Regions from separate parts of the Homo sapiens genome. Here regions 2, 3 and 4 are each linked to region 1. Evidence: promoter capture Hi-C in 16 types of primary human blood cells and fetal thymus (Javierre and others, 2016). All regions are on one chromosome and are shown on one strand. Each heading gives the region's core, a stretch centred on a gene start or on the middle of the fragment in contact. The rest is flanking DNA. Distances are from core to core; before and after follow the strand shown.

Region 1 (3,311 bases), core at 310-2,809:
TACATTCCTACGAAAAGTATATGTAAATTGACTAAATTTGCCAGTCAAAATATAAATACTGCCTGGGTTATAATACACCATTATTATGGTGTAACACACCATATATTATAGTGTGATATATGACATTGTGTGACCTTGGCCAAGTTTACCTATCCTTTGTATGCCTCAGCTTCCTCATCTGTAAATAGGTCTGAAGACAGTACCTAGCTAAATGGTTGTTGTAAGGATTAACTGAGTTAAAACACACAGAGCAAATAGAGTAGCGTTTATCACATAATAAGGATTCAAATATAAGCTACTATTATGTTATCTTTGACACCCCTCGTTTCTACAGGAATAATTAAGAATCAATTATCCATCCAAGCATTTGGGAATTAATTTTAAAAAATCAATTATCCAGTTATATTTTTCAGAATTAAGATGTCTGAATATTTGAGAGGGGGCATTATCTGAAGAAATGGTTACCTCTTGGCCAATCTTATGGTACAAATACAAAGTCCATATATTCCCCTCCCCGCCTCCTTTTTTTTTTTTTTTGTTTGGTAGAGACAGGGTCTCCTTATGTTGCCCAGGCTGGTCTCTAATTCCTGGGCTCAAGTGATCCTCCCGCCTTGGCTTCCCAAAGTGCTGGGATTACAGGTGTGAGCCACCGCAACCTGGCCAATGTATTTTCCAAGCAATTACTATTCTTCACCTTGTGTGTAGAGTTTGTGAATGAAACAGATTTTTTTTTTTTTTTTTTTTTTTGAGACAGGGTCTTGCTGTGCTGTTCAGGCTGGAGTGCAGTGGTGCAATCATGGCTCACTGCAGCCTCGACCTCCCGGGCTCAAGCCATCATTCCGCCTCGCTTCCCAAGTAGATGGGACTTGCCCGGCCCGAAGCGGAACTACTGAGTTTCCTTATTTTGGAGGCAGTAATCAAATAAAAAATACCAAAACCTTAAATGATAATCAGTTTGCTACTTTATTTGGGACAAAAGAGAATTCTATATTTCATCCATCCATCACTTCACTGCTCAAAGACTTTGCCCCTTACCTATTTCTCCCTTCTTGGTCATAAATGTTAGGGCTTTATATGCAAAGCCCTGTGCTTTCTCCGATCAAGTCCAAAAGCTTGTATGAGCCACTCCTTGGATAAGAAGGGGATGGGGCCTTCTAGATGCTGTAAGTATCTCTTATATTGAACTCAGAATTGTTCTGACTGGCAGTTTATGAAGTTCTTCCCCTACTCCTCCCATCGCCAATTTTTCTTGCCCCAAACATTTATACCTCAGGGTTAAGAAGCCAGGTAAGTGAGGGGGTGTGACTCGCCCAGTCTTTCGTTGGAAAAAAGTGTAGACCTGTCAGGAAGACACAGCATAGAAAGGCTGCATGTGCTGATTTGAACTCGAGCCTCAGTAAAACATTGAAATGAATGAACACCAACCGGAAGGGAAAGAAGAGGGGAGGGGATAAGGAGCCTGAGGATTGGTTTGCCCCGCGGGATGGTCCGCGCCTGAGCCATGGGAGGCGGGGTGCCCGCCGGCAGAAGTAAACAGAGCGAGTACGCCTGCGCACGCTCTTCCTGGGTCAAGAGCCGGCTCGGTTCTGGGATTCTGAGGCTCCCCACCGCGGTCCGGCTTCTCTGGGAGACTGTCTACAAACCGACGAGAGGCGTCAACCTTTTACCCTAGGGGGCGGATTTGGGTAGGAGCCGAGCGTTCGGTCGGAAACGCCCCCTTCTTCCTCCTGGGCGGGGCAAGTGAGGCCAAGTACTGGGCCTCCAGGGCGTCGTACCTCTGTGAGACATGGCTCGCTGTGGGGAAGGCAGTGCGGCCCCCATGGTACTTCTGGGGTCCGCTGGAGTTTGCAGTAAGGGGTTGCAAAGGAAGGGGCCGTGTGAGCGGCGCCGGCTGAAGGCGACGGTGTCGGAGCAGCTCAGCCAGGATTTGCTCAGGTAGGAGGAGGCGGGAACTCTGGCTGCTTCAGTTCCTAAATCGCCCACCTCCGCCCCGAAGCTGAGGCTTCTTTCGGCTCTGCCTCCCCCTCCCTCAGCACTTGGTTCTCCTCGCCTCAGGCGACTGCGGGTCGTTAGCCAGTCTCCCCACTATTCCGAAAAGTGGCTTCGCTCGCCCTGAATAAACAATCCCGAGCACCTCGACACCATGTACCAGATTCAAAAGGAAAACAAAAAAAGCTTAGTCGTGTGCAGCACTAGTTTGCTAGAAATATCTCAACACAGGCACGCTTAGTTGTTTCCAATCACTAAGGTCGGGTGGATCCAGGTCCTGAAACTTACACAATTTTTAAAATAAGCTTATACTATTTTAAGAAAAATAATAAAATTAGGAAAACGATTATTTGAAATGAGGAAAGAACAATACTATAGTCTTGGAGGTCTCTTCTGAGGTCTCTTTAAACAATTTACCAGAAATGCTTCCTGATTGCGACCTGGATTCCTCTCTCCACCTAGAGCTCTCTGTAGCTCCCAGCAACTCTCAGCTCCTGTGAGGACCAAAGCAAATGGAGGGTCTTCCTGACATTTAACCTTTGTAAGCCTCATGGATATCCTTCTCGGGTTATTGGGAATCCAGCTAAAGTAATTTCAGCTTACAAAGAAATTGAAGCTTAGAAATATGACCTAGCTAATTTACATTTCCAGCAAGACATTGATTCTTAAACTTGGGTGGGCATCACTGAAATTTTCCATTTCTAACAAGGCCCCAAGTGATGCTAATGCTGCTGGCTAGGGTGACTATGAGAACCACTGAGGTAAACATAATTACTAATAATTAAAAGTTGTGCAGCATTCTACTTTTTTTTTTTTGGAGACGGAGTCTCGCTCTGTCGCCCAGGCTGGAGCGCCGTGGCGCGATCTCGGCTCACTGCAACCTCCACCTCCCGGGTTCAAGCCATTCTCCTGCCTCAACCTCCCGAGTAGCTGGGATTACAGGCACGCGCCACCACGCCCGGCTAATTTTTGTATTTTTAGTAGAGACGGGATTTCATCATGTTGGCCAGGCTAGTCACGAACTCGTGACCACAAGTGATCCGCCCGCCTCGGCCTCCCAAAATGCTGGGATTACAGGCGTGAGCCACTGCGCCCAGCCAGGATTCTACATTTTGAAGTGCTTTCTGTCAAAAACTCACCCATACTTAAGGCTCCGATAGCTATAAACAGAATTTATCAAAGTAAAAAAAAAATCCCTTTAATTTGGGACTATCTACTGGGGAAGCTACTTTGTCTCTACCAGGGAGGGACTGATGAAAAAGATGGAAAAAATAATACTAAAGTTGTTAACGTTTCTAGGGTAACACATCTAATTTATATGA
Region 2 (3,311 bases), core at 354-2,853, 510 kb after region 1:
GAGAATGGTATTAAAAACCAAAATCTGGGCACTAAGTGTACATAAACTAATTTTTAATAACACCAAGTGAGCATATATATTATGGTACTTAAGAGTCCAAACTCCCCTAATTCTTAACTGAGATCTTACTATGAGCTCATCTTGGGGGATCCAAATGATGTTCTTCAATTCTAGATATAGCAATATCCTAAAAACCTCTAGATACTTCATCCCTTTAAATTTAACTGTGTACTGAAGTTGGACACGAAAGAATCTCTGAACACTTCAGAAAAAAGTTTTTAAACAGAATCTCGCAATCCCTAATGACTAGATAGCAAGCTAGGTAAAGCAGTCTATGTACGTATTTTCCTGACAATTAATATTAAGACAAGATACAATTACAGAAGATATTTTTTCAAATTAAAAATGCTTAAAATTGAGAAATGCCTTAAAGAAAAATGAAAAATATTTTAATATTTAGGTAAATTGCTCAAAACGAAAGCCATAAACGATTGTGCTTCAGGGGCAAAAAAAAAAAAAAAAAACTATTAACAAGTTAGCTCAGGAAACTGGAAAGTACAAACTAATCACAAAGCTTTATGATAAATTCCATCATTTAGTAATGTCATGGTAATTTCACATAATTAAAAAATATAATATTTTTAAGTTAATGGTAAAGGTTTTATCACTTCCTCTCCATCTCTGTCAAAACTACATACTGATCTGAGCACAGTGATTTAAACCTAGCACCCTCATTCTATGTCAGAACAGAATTTTGAGTGGGCGTTTTTAAGCCAAGAGTGGTTGGGGTATTGCCCATCTGAGGCATCCCTAGAGGTTATCTGTTGGGCAAACTAATCAAAATGGGTAAATGTTACTGGGTACCAGGAAAAAAACCAAAAGTTGGATTTGAGTAGACCTACACTCTTTTAAATGAAAAACTTTCCATTACTTGTAACAAAGTGGCGTTAATTTTATAGATGTGCTTAGCCCACAGAAGCTTTTAACATAGTTACAAAAATCAATATGCTTATCTTTATAATAACCAAAATACAAACTCAATCCCAGGTTAAATACTAGAAGGCTTGGGTTTAATTCTCACCTATTTTCCTTAACTAACTGAGGAAAAAATTGACTTTTCTATGTTTTGTTCTACTCCATGGAATTTAGAGATAGCTCCATTTAGTATTAATGTAAAAATAAAGTCTTCAAATAATAAATAGCATTTAGATGGTGGAAAACTCCAGTAATAAGAGGAAACTTAATTTTTTAACCTCATTTCCCTCCAAACTAAATACCATGAATTCTTACAAGTATTTTTTGAATCAGTTCAATTAAATCTTTTTAACAGCTTAAATGTCATCTAACTGATCACTCCCATGCTCAAAACCCTCCAATGATTTTCCATCTGAGTCGGGAAAGGTCAAAGTTTTAGGTCCTACATAATTGGCTCTATTTACCTCTCAGACTTCCTCTAATTCCCATGTCTCACTCCACCCAGACTCTACTTCAGACTTGCTCCTTATGTCAGGCCCTTTGCCTGTACTATTCTCCTAGTAAGTAGTTCTTCCCCCAAATCTTCATGCCTCATCTGATTCAAATGTTTGTTTAAATAAATATCCCCTTCTAATGAACCTTTATAAACCACATTGTGAAAATAGCAACAGTCCTCCATCCCTAATACCAATATCTTCTCATTCTCACATTTTTCTCCGTTGTCTTCCACTGTCTAAATTTCACACCATAAGATTTATTTTTTTCATCTAACTTCTCATTCTACCATAAAGCTCAATGAGGAAAGGGATTTTTGTATTTTGTTCACTAATCCAGGTAGTGTTTAGAATAGTGACAGGCACATAGTAAGTACCCCATAAATATCTACAAAATTGAAACCAATACTTCATTTAAATTAGAAACTTAATCTGTTCTTCACATGTGGGTTTTAAAATTAGAATAACATTTAAAGTCTAATTGATATTTCAAAAAATAAACTATTACATACAAATTATTTCAGTAAATAAACATATTTTGACTGTGGCTAGTATGCCGATATTGGAAATATAAAGTCAAATAATGGTCCTTACCCTCAATGAACTTCAGCTGCACATGGTGGACAGAAAAATTGAAAAGAATTAACTACAGTAGTGTGAGATGGTATAAGAAAGATCTCTAACAAAGGGTATTAGAAGAGCAGAGATACACGAAATCAGGTAAGATGGCATTAACAGGGAATGCTGATCACAACTGGTCAAGCTTAAGCTGACTTTTGGGGGTGGAGCCAATATGGCCGAATAGGAACACCTCCAGTCTACAGCTCCCAGCGTGAGTGATGCAGAAGATGAAAGATTCCTGCATTTCCAACTGAGGTACTGCGTTCATCTCACTGGGGATTGTCAGACAAGGGGTGCAGGACACTGGGTGCAGCACACCGAGCGTGAGCCGAAGTAGGACGAGGCATCACCTCACCAGGGAAGCACAAGGGGTCAGGGAATTCCCTTTCCTAGCCAAGGAAAGGGGTGACAGATGGCACGTGGAAAATCAAGTCACTCCCACCCCAATACTGCACTTTTCCAATGGTCTTAGCAAACAGCACACCAGGAGATTGTATCCTGTGCCTGGCTTGGAGGGTCCTACGCCCACAGAGTCTCGCTCATTGCTAGCACAGCAGTCTGAGATCAAACTGCAAGGCGGCAGCGAGGCTGGGGGAGGGGCGCCTGCCACTGCCGAGGCTTGAGTAGGTAAACAACACAGCCGAGAAGCTCCAACTGGGTGGAGCCCACTGCAGCTCAAGGAGGCCTGCCTGCCTCTGTAGACTCCACCTCTGGGGGCAGGGCATAGCCAAACAAAAGGCAGCAGAAACCTCCGCAGACTTAAATGTCCCTGTCTGACAGCTTTGAAGAGAGTAGCGGTTCTCCCAGCACGCAGCTTGAGATCTGAGAACCGACAGACTGCCTCCTCAAGTGGGGCCCTGACCCCTGAGTAGCCTAACTGAGAGGCACCCCCCCGTATGGGCAGACTGACACCTCACACGGCCGGGTACCCCTCTGAGACAAAGCTTCCAGAGGAACGATCAGGCAGCAACATTTGCTGTTCACCAATATCCGCTGTTCTGCAGCCTCCGCTGCTGATATACAGGCAAACAGGGTCTGGAGTGGACCTCCAGCAAACTCCAACAGACCTGCAGCTAACGGTCCTGACTGTTAGAAGGAAAACTAACAAACAGAAAGGACATCCACACCAAAACCCCATCTGTACGTCACCATCATCGAAGACCAAACGTAGATAAAACCACAAAGATGCGGAAAAAACAGAGCAGAAAAACTGAAAATTCT
Region 3 (3,311 bases), core at 423-2,922, 410 kb after region 1:
AGGTAATATAATTATCCCCTTCTAATCTTATAAGAAGCAGGCTATCAAAATAGAATTCCACTGACACCATAAGTCAGAATACGATTTAATGGTACCATCATTTGTGGGAAGTGGGTAATGTTTTTTGTACCAGCTCATGCAAAAATTGGGAAATTAAGTAAAGGAGAAACATGGAGATAAGTTAATAGAAGACTTAAGGTATAAGAACCAACTTTGTATTAATATTTTTTACTTTTCAAACATGAAGAAAAACATTTGCTTTTAATAAACATTTTGGGACTGATATATTTAAATCTCATTACATTTAAAAATATTATCTATTACTATAAAGTTTAAATTAGGCTTTTACATAAAGGATTTCAAACATCTGAAGAGGGAGGAGACTGTCAGCTTTGGTGTTCAGAGTTCAAATAAGAAAATTGTTAATCTCACCACATACGTATTTTTACATTGTTCCTAAGAATAGATTGAACGAAGTGTCATCTTACTGTGAGCTATGTGATATGACTCCTCATAGAAACACAGCCAGTGTGAACTTTTATAGGAAAAAAAAGGAGTATAGTTTGCTTTGTGAATGGAAAATCAAACGAGAGAAAATGCAAAAATTATCTTTCTTTTGAGTTTTTCACCATTTCCTCCAGTATGTTTGGTGATTAGTTCACCCTACCCCAGATGAAACACTTCACTTTAAAATAGTACAGCCTATATATTGTAAATTTTAAAAATTACTCACAAAACACAACTCCCTTAAAGGAAATATATGACCCCATATCTGGAGGTAAGGTGGGAGTTGAGGCTTCTGAAAATCTCTGGCCGCTGCTGTCTGCATGAGGCGGGGCTTGGAGGATCATCCCACATGAACAACCTCAGGCTCGCCCAAAGAGACAGACAGAAGGACAGCATGAACTGATGATAGGTAGATGCAGCCCACTGGATGTTCCACCTCAGCTGCTATCCTGGGCTTCATAGAAGAGAAAGAAATGCTGGGAGTTCTCCAAGGCAGGCATTCTGGTCATTTCTGTTTTATGGATAAGGACACCAGTGGTCCATACGTGGGAAAGGAAGGGAAAAAAAAAAGGGGGAGACACCAGTGGTTTAAGAAGCCCAGGTTCTGATAACTAGCAGCTTTCTTATTCCAACCAAATCTGTTGATTCCAAATATTGTTTCTTTCCACCAAATCACATTACTTGTTTCACATCCAGCATAGGGTAGAAAAGCCTGGAGCCAAAAGTCACGTGCCTGTCACAGACTTGAGAGGTAGTAAGGATGGGATGGTGGAGGAGAGACACATTCCCTCCTCTCCTGCTGCAAGGCCCAACCCATCACTCCCAACAGTGTGGACTTGGCAGGCATGCTGCTCATCCAAAGGTCAGAAAATAATAGTATTTAAGTTGCTGAAAGCAGCATAGTTATGTTAATTCAATAGAACATTTGTAAAGTAGACAAAATAAAAAGTAAAAATACAGCTCCATATCTCACTACCTTAGTTCAACCTCTAGTAATATTTCAGAGTGTTTTCCCCCCAGTCTTAAAAAAAGAGTCTACTATGATGATATTGTATAATTGTCCATTTAGATGATGTGCTGTGATCTTATTTATTATGTTACTGGACAGTTGGATTATTTCCCTTTTTCCCTACTATAAATGATGCTGTGATTTTTTTTTTAATTGTACCTGGGTTTTTCTATATGTAGGATTCTTTCTTTAGGATTCATAACCAGAAGTGATTCCCCTCCTGGATCAAAGGTTAGGAACCTCCTTTTTGTTGTGTTTTGTTTTTTATGTGTTTGTATGTTTGTTTTGTAGAGGTAGGCCCACTATGTTGCCCAAGCTGGTCTTGAACTCCTGGCCTCAAGGTGATCCTCCTGCCTTGGACTCCCAAACTGCTGGGATTACAGGTGTGAGCATCCATGCCCAGCTAAAGGCTAGGAACATTTTCAAGTCTATGGACACATATTGAGAAATTATTTTCCTGAATGATTGTAATAATTACACCCCTGCCAAGAAAAATTATAAATACCACAGTAGCTAAGAGGCAGAAGAGTGTAGCAATTAAGAGCATGGACTCTAAGCCAGATTTCTAATGTCTGGAAATTCTGGCTCTGCCTTCTTCTATCCTTAAACAAGTTCCTTAACCTCTCTGTACTTCAGTTTCTTCATCTGCAAACATGGTTACAATAACAACACCTACTTCATAGATTCTGGAACAGATTCAATGAGTTAATACATGTAAAGCATAGAGTAGGCATTTACTAAGTGTTAGTTATTGTCACTATTACAACAGGCACTATTGGCGGCCCTTTTTATGTACATTATCTCTAACCATCCCAATGAACAGGCTGTGGGAATAGACTCAGAGAGGCTTGCCTTCCCCAGATCACATAGCCAGAGAAGGACAGAGTCCTGATTCCAACGCAGGCCAGCCTGACTCCTGACCCTGGACTGCTGCAGGAGGTAGGCCTCAAGGCCTCCCATTGTAGGGGCAGTAGGTTTGTGCACTGCAGGCAGCCCCTGAGACTTGCCAGGAAGCATTTTTATGTGGATTTCTTTTTTTTTTTATTTTTTATTTTTTGAGACAGAGTCTCGCTCTGTCACCTAGGCTGGAGTGCAGTGGTGCGATCTTGGCTCACTGCAACCTCCGCCTCCTGGGTTCCAGCGATTGTCATGCCTTAGCCTCCTGAGTAGCTAGGATTACAGGCGCCTGCCACCACGTCCAGCTAATTTTTGTATTTTTAGTAGAGAGGGGGTTTCACCATGTTAGCCAGGCTGGTCTCGAACTCCTGACCTCAGGTGATCCATCCACCTCGGCCTCCCAAAGTGCTGGCATTACAGGCGTGAGCCACCATGACCGGCCATTTTTATATGGATTTCTGATATCCCAATTAGACCTGAGAGACTCAGGCTCCCTTCCTGAGCTCCTGGACCTTATCTCCCACAGGAGGCTTTCCAAGGATCACTTCCAACTGTCATGGTCTGTGTCCCCATAAAGCCAAGCAGTTCATCTGAGCTGAGGCTGGTAGAGAAGTGCTAGGGGATCATTGCCTCTTCCTAAAATATTCTCAACTGTTCTTACTGTCTGGCAAGGAGCAATTTATCAGTAGGGACTGTCATGAGTTTTCATTTGAGCTTTAATTAAAACACATGAAGGGCCAGGCGCAGTGGCTCAAGCCTATAATCCCAGCACTTTGGGAGGCCAAGGTGGGTGGATCACCTGAGGTCAGGAGTTTGAGACCAGCCTGGCCAACATGGTGAAACCCTGTATCTACTAAAAATACAAAAAGTAGCCAGGTGTGGTGGTGCACACCTGTAG
Region 4 (3,311 bases), core at 1-2,500, 400 kb after region 1:
GAGCAATTGGATTTTACTCTTCTGGATATTAGCTTGTGTGCTTCACTTTTATACTCCATTGCAGTTTCCTTCAGTGCCAGCTTTCCCCCTACAGACTAAAACAAAGGTCTTCCCCAAATTCCCTGCCTAAAGGAAAGGCAATCTGTAATACTCTTAATACTTTATTAACTTAAAACATCACTCTAATAAATATGTATTAACAAACATAATGCTTACCAGAAGATCTAAAAACATTTACCAACCTCATCAAAGTGAAAATACCACCTTTCCCCCCTCTATGGTACACATGGAGGGTCAAAGAGTTGAAGACAGAGCCTTCCTTCCCACATGCCTGCTAGCTCAGAAATCTTTAAAATATCAGCTTAACAATAAAAAACTGAATATACACACATATCTTTGAAGTAACTGTTCAGCTTTTTGTTTACACCTGATAAAATCCAAAAGGGTCAAAAGGGAAGGTTTACAATTCTGTGCTGTCTTCTCAGAATTCCCTCCAAGAGTAAGAACAGACCCAGCCACTTGGAGGTGCAACCGTTAGCTTTTGAGGAGCAGTCAGGGGTTGTGACTTCAGTCTCTCTTCCCCAATACCTAGCATGGTGCCTGGTACCTTGGTAGCCGGTGATCCATGAACATTTGCTGAGTGAATGAATGACATCTTGTCCACAGGCATTGCTTGTGCTTTTACCTCCAGTGATGAGGTTTTCACAGCCCTACTGAAGGGAGGACCTCTAATCCCCTCTCATTACCAACTTCTCTTCTGCTTCTTCTTGGGGGTAGCCTCGATGGTGCATCTCATGACTTCAAAGTATTAAATTCCTTCCCCAAGTCAGTTTCTGAATCAGTTTTTGAGGAGGAGAAATGATTCCTCCAAGATTTATAGGCAGCACCCAAAAGAAAGGAGTCAACAGACCCCCCAGAAGGAAAAAAATAAAAGTTAACACTCACTCTTCTTTCTAGATAAAAATATTAGCATTTGTCCACCTTGTAAATGGTGATTCCTCCTCTTCCACACAAATATCTGGGGTAGGTCAAGAGGGGGGAGGGAAGAAACCTGAAGGGCATTCCTGTCTGTAGATTAGGGCTGGAAATGGGAAGGACTGTGGGGTCTAAGATTTATTCTGGTCCCCATTTGACTTTGCCTTTGTCTTCAGGTGTAGAGGAGCCTATTTGTGTCCGAAGCCTAGAGAGTCACTTGGTTCTCACTCTCGGCTGCACTTTGAAAAGGTACCTCATTTCTTCTGGCAGCTCCAGGAGGTAAGGCGAAGGAGGAGCAACCTGGTAGGATCTGCAGACTGGACCTGGGGTCTGGAAAGTCAGAAGGGAGTGGAGGCAAGCAGGGAGCAGAGTGGTGGCAAGCAGGGAGGCTGCCCTCTGTAGTGTTGTGTAGCTGCTGCTTGCAGCCAGCCAGGGTGCTCATTTGAGCCCATGCTGCGTCTCCCGGTGCCTTCGGAGGTCCACCTTCCTCTGGAAACCCTTCCCACAGAGGTCGCAGCCGAAGGGCTTGAAGCCTGTGTGTTTGCGGCTGTGGGTGATGAGGTTGGAGCTCTGGCTGAATGCCTTGCCGCACACCTGGCACTTGTGAGGCTTCTCACCTGTGGGGATGGGAGGGGGAGGGGAGAAAGTATGAGTCTATGATAAAGCTAGAGGGGACCCACTGTGACCCACATGCTCTTGGCAGCAGCTGGTTGCACCACAGTCTAAGGCCTTCAAGCAACTTGGAGGGTGACGTGTTGCAACCTGAACTGACTCCCAGCCTGCAATGCGAGTCCCTGGAAGCACCATGGGGGCACCAGGTGAAAGGGAGACTTTCTGAAGGGGGGTTCCCAGCCAAAGGCCTCAAACGGTTTCCTGCTAAACGGAAACAGAGCAAAGGCCACGTGCCCTCCCCAGCTGAATCTACCCCGGGAGGACTCCCCTGACTTTATAAGCCATGAACACTCAGAGCAGATGTTCAACAGGAAGGGGAGGGGGAAGCTGTCCTAAAACCGTGTGACTCCGTTCTAATTCAGAGGAAGTTTTCAAATCTGAATTTCCAAGTGGGTGTTAGTTTGTATGGATCAGTGAGCCCGTCTTCTTTCTTGTTCTTGAAGGACAGCAGATTATATCTGAAAAAACATCTTAACATGGACTTTCTTTCTTTCTTTATTTCTCTCTCTCTCTCTCTTTCTTTCTAAGTTCCGGGGTACATGTGCAGGATACGTTTTTCAATATCTTATTTTAAAAATCCACATTTGGGCCACAAAGGATTAAGGCAGCTGATACTTTACTGTCTTGATTTTTCCTTAATTTTATGGGGTTAATCACATGATTCTTTATATACCAGCAATTCTTCACCACAAATTAATAAATAAGAGAACACAAGAAGGTTTTGTCTTGTTCCCCATCTCATGTGTTGTTGGGTAAATGGCATGAATTTCCAATAGCCCAGCATGGCATTATAGTCAGGGCTCAGCCTTGGAAAAAGTATAAAATAGATGAAGTTTGTTTTTGAGGAACCCTCTGTCCTCCTTGCTAAAAACTCTTTTCTGTTTTCATGCTTCAGATTTCCTTGATAAGAAACCACCCATCAAAATGTATTCTATCCCTTTAGGGTCAAACAAATCTGAGAAAACAAATTCTAGGTATAACGTAAATGTTTGATAAGGGCTTAATGTTTTATTCAGTCAAGATCCTAGTTGCATTTTGATAAGTGTCCTGAATACCTTACTTATAAGGAGTGAATTACATGGAAATTTCAGGTAAGAGGGAATGATTAAAGTAGAATACTTTTCTGGGTTTTCAATGGAAATATATACATTACCCAAGTATATTTATAAACATCAAGGGTGGGTGTTTAGAATACACTGTGATTTGTTCTAAATCAGTATTCATATTCTGCAATAAAATTTTCAGAAATTCTGGGTCTCATGTAAATGTCTTTTGACTATTAGAGTGTTCTTGGCATTAAAACTCCCACCCGCACATAAAGTGTTAGACAAACAGTCCAGGATTAAAAGCCAGAGCATTACATGGCTACATTATTCATTCAGTCTTACTTCTGATAAATCATTCACTCTTTCTGAGTTTCAGGATGGTAAGAGCAGCTCCTTCTACTTTCTTGAGTGGCAATAAGAATCAAATGAAATGATAGATTTGAAAGTACTTTGTAAATTATAAAGCATTATAATAGGTAAGGAATTATCATTATTATGGCATTAACTTGCAGATATTTTGAAAAGGGCAATAAGTGAACAGAAGCTTTCTGTCTACCAACCTCATGACTCTGAACATAAAATACAATAAACAGTGGTCAAGAGTGAACATTTGAGAGG

Evidence for each region. Contacts are between HindIII fragments. The CHiCAGO score rates a contact against its expected background, and 5 or more counts as called.
Region 2: a fragment that was not itself captured here is called in contact with the fragment with the promoter of BTBD8 in region 1 in 1 of 17 cell types (naive CD4 T cells); the score reaches 6.9 in naive CD4 T cells.
Region 3: a contact is called between a fragment that was not itself captured here and the fragment with the promoter of BTBD8 in region 1, in 1 of 17 cell types (fetal thymus). The highest score is 5.3, in fetal thymus.
Region 4: a contact is called between a fragment that was not itself captured here and the fragment with the promoter of BTBD8 in region 1, in 1 of 17 cell types (fetal thymus). The highest score is 7.4, in fetal thymus.

Annotation. Positions count from the first base shown.
Region 1 is chr1:92,078,786-92,082,096 of GRCh38, forward strand. It overlaps BTBD8 (BTB domain containing 8), which reads left to right and starts at 1,560. Exons shown (of 18, transcript NM_001376131.1): 1 at 1,560-1,935. The coding sequence starts at 1,787. RefSeq lists an enhancer at 2,833-3,311. The HindIII fragment of the contact is 1,063 bases long and covers 1,111-2,173 here.
Region 2 is chr1:92,586,883-92,590,193 of GRCh38, forward strand. All of the region lies in intron 18 of EVI5 (ecotropic viral integration site 5), which reads right to left. Among named protein-coding and RNA genes, the nearest start is that of GFI1, 100 kb to the left of the region's middle. The HindIII fragment of the contact is 1,253 bases long and covers 978-2,230 here.
Region 3 is chr1:92,490,914-92,494,224 of GRCh38, forward strand. No RefSeq gene overlaps it. Among named protein-coding and RNA genes, the nearest start is that of GFI1, 5.6 kb to the left of the region's middle. The HindIII fragment of the contact is 6,595 bases long and covers 1-3,311 here.
Region 4 is chr1:92,474,616-92,477,926 of GRCh38, forward strand. It overlaps GFI1 (growth factor independent 1 transcriptional repressor), which reads right to left. Exons shown (of 7, transcript NM_005263.5): 7 at 1-1,592. The coding sequence ends at 1,414. Among named protein-coding and RNA genes, the nearest start is that of GFI1, 11 kb to the right of the region's middle. RefSeq lists an enhancer at 1,452-1,681. The HindIII fragment of the contact is 3,970 bases long and covers 1-3,235 here.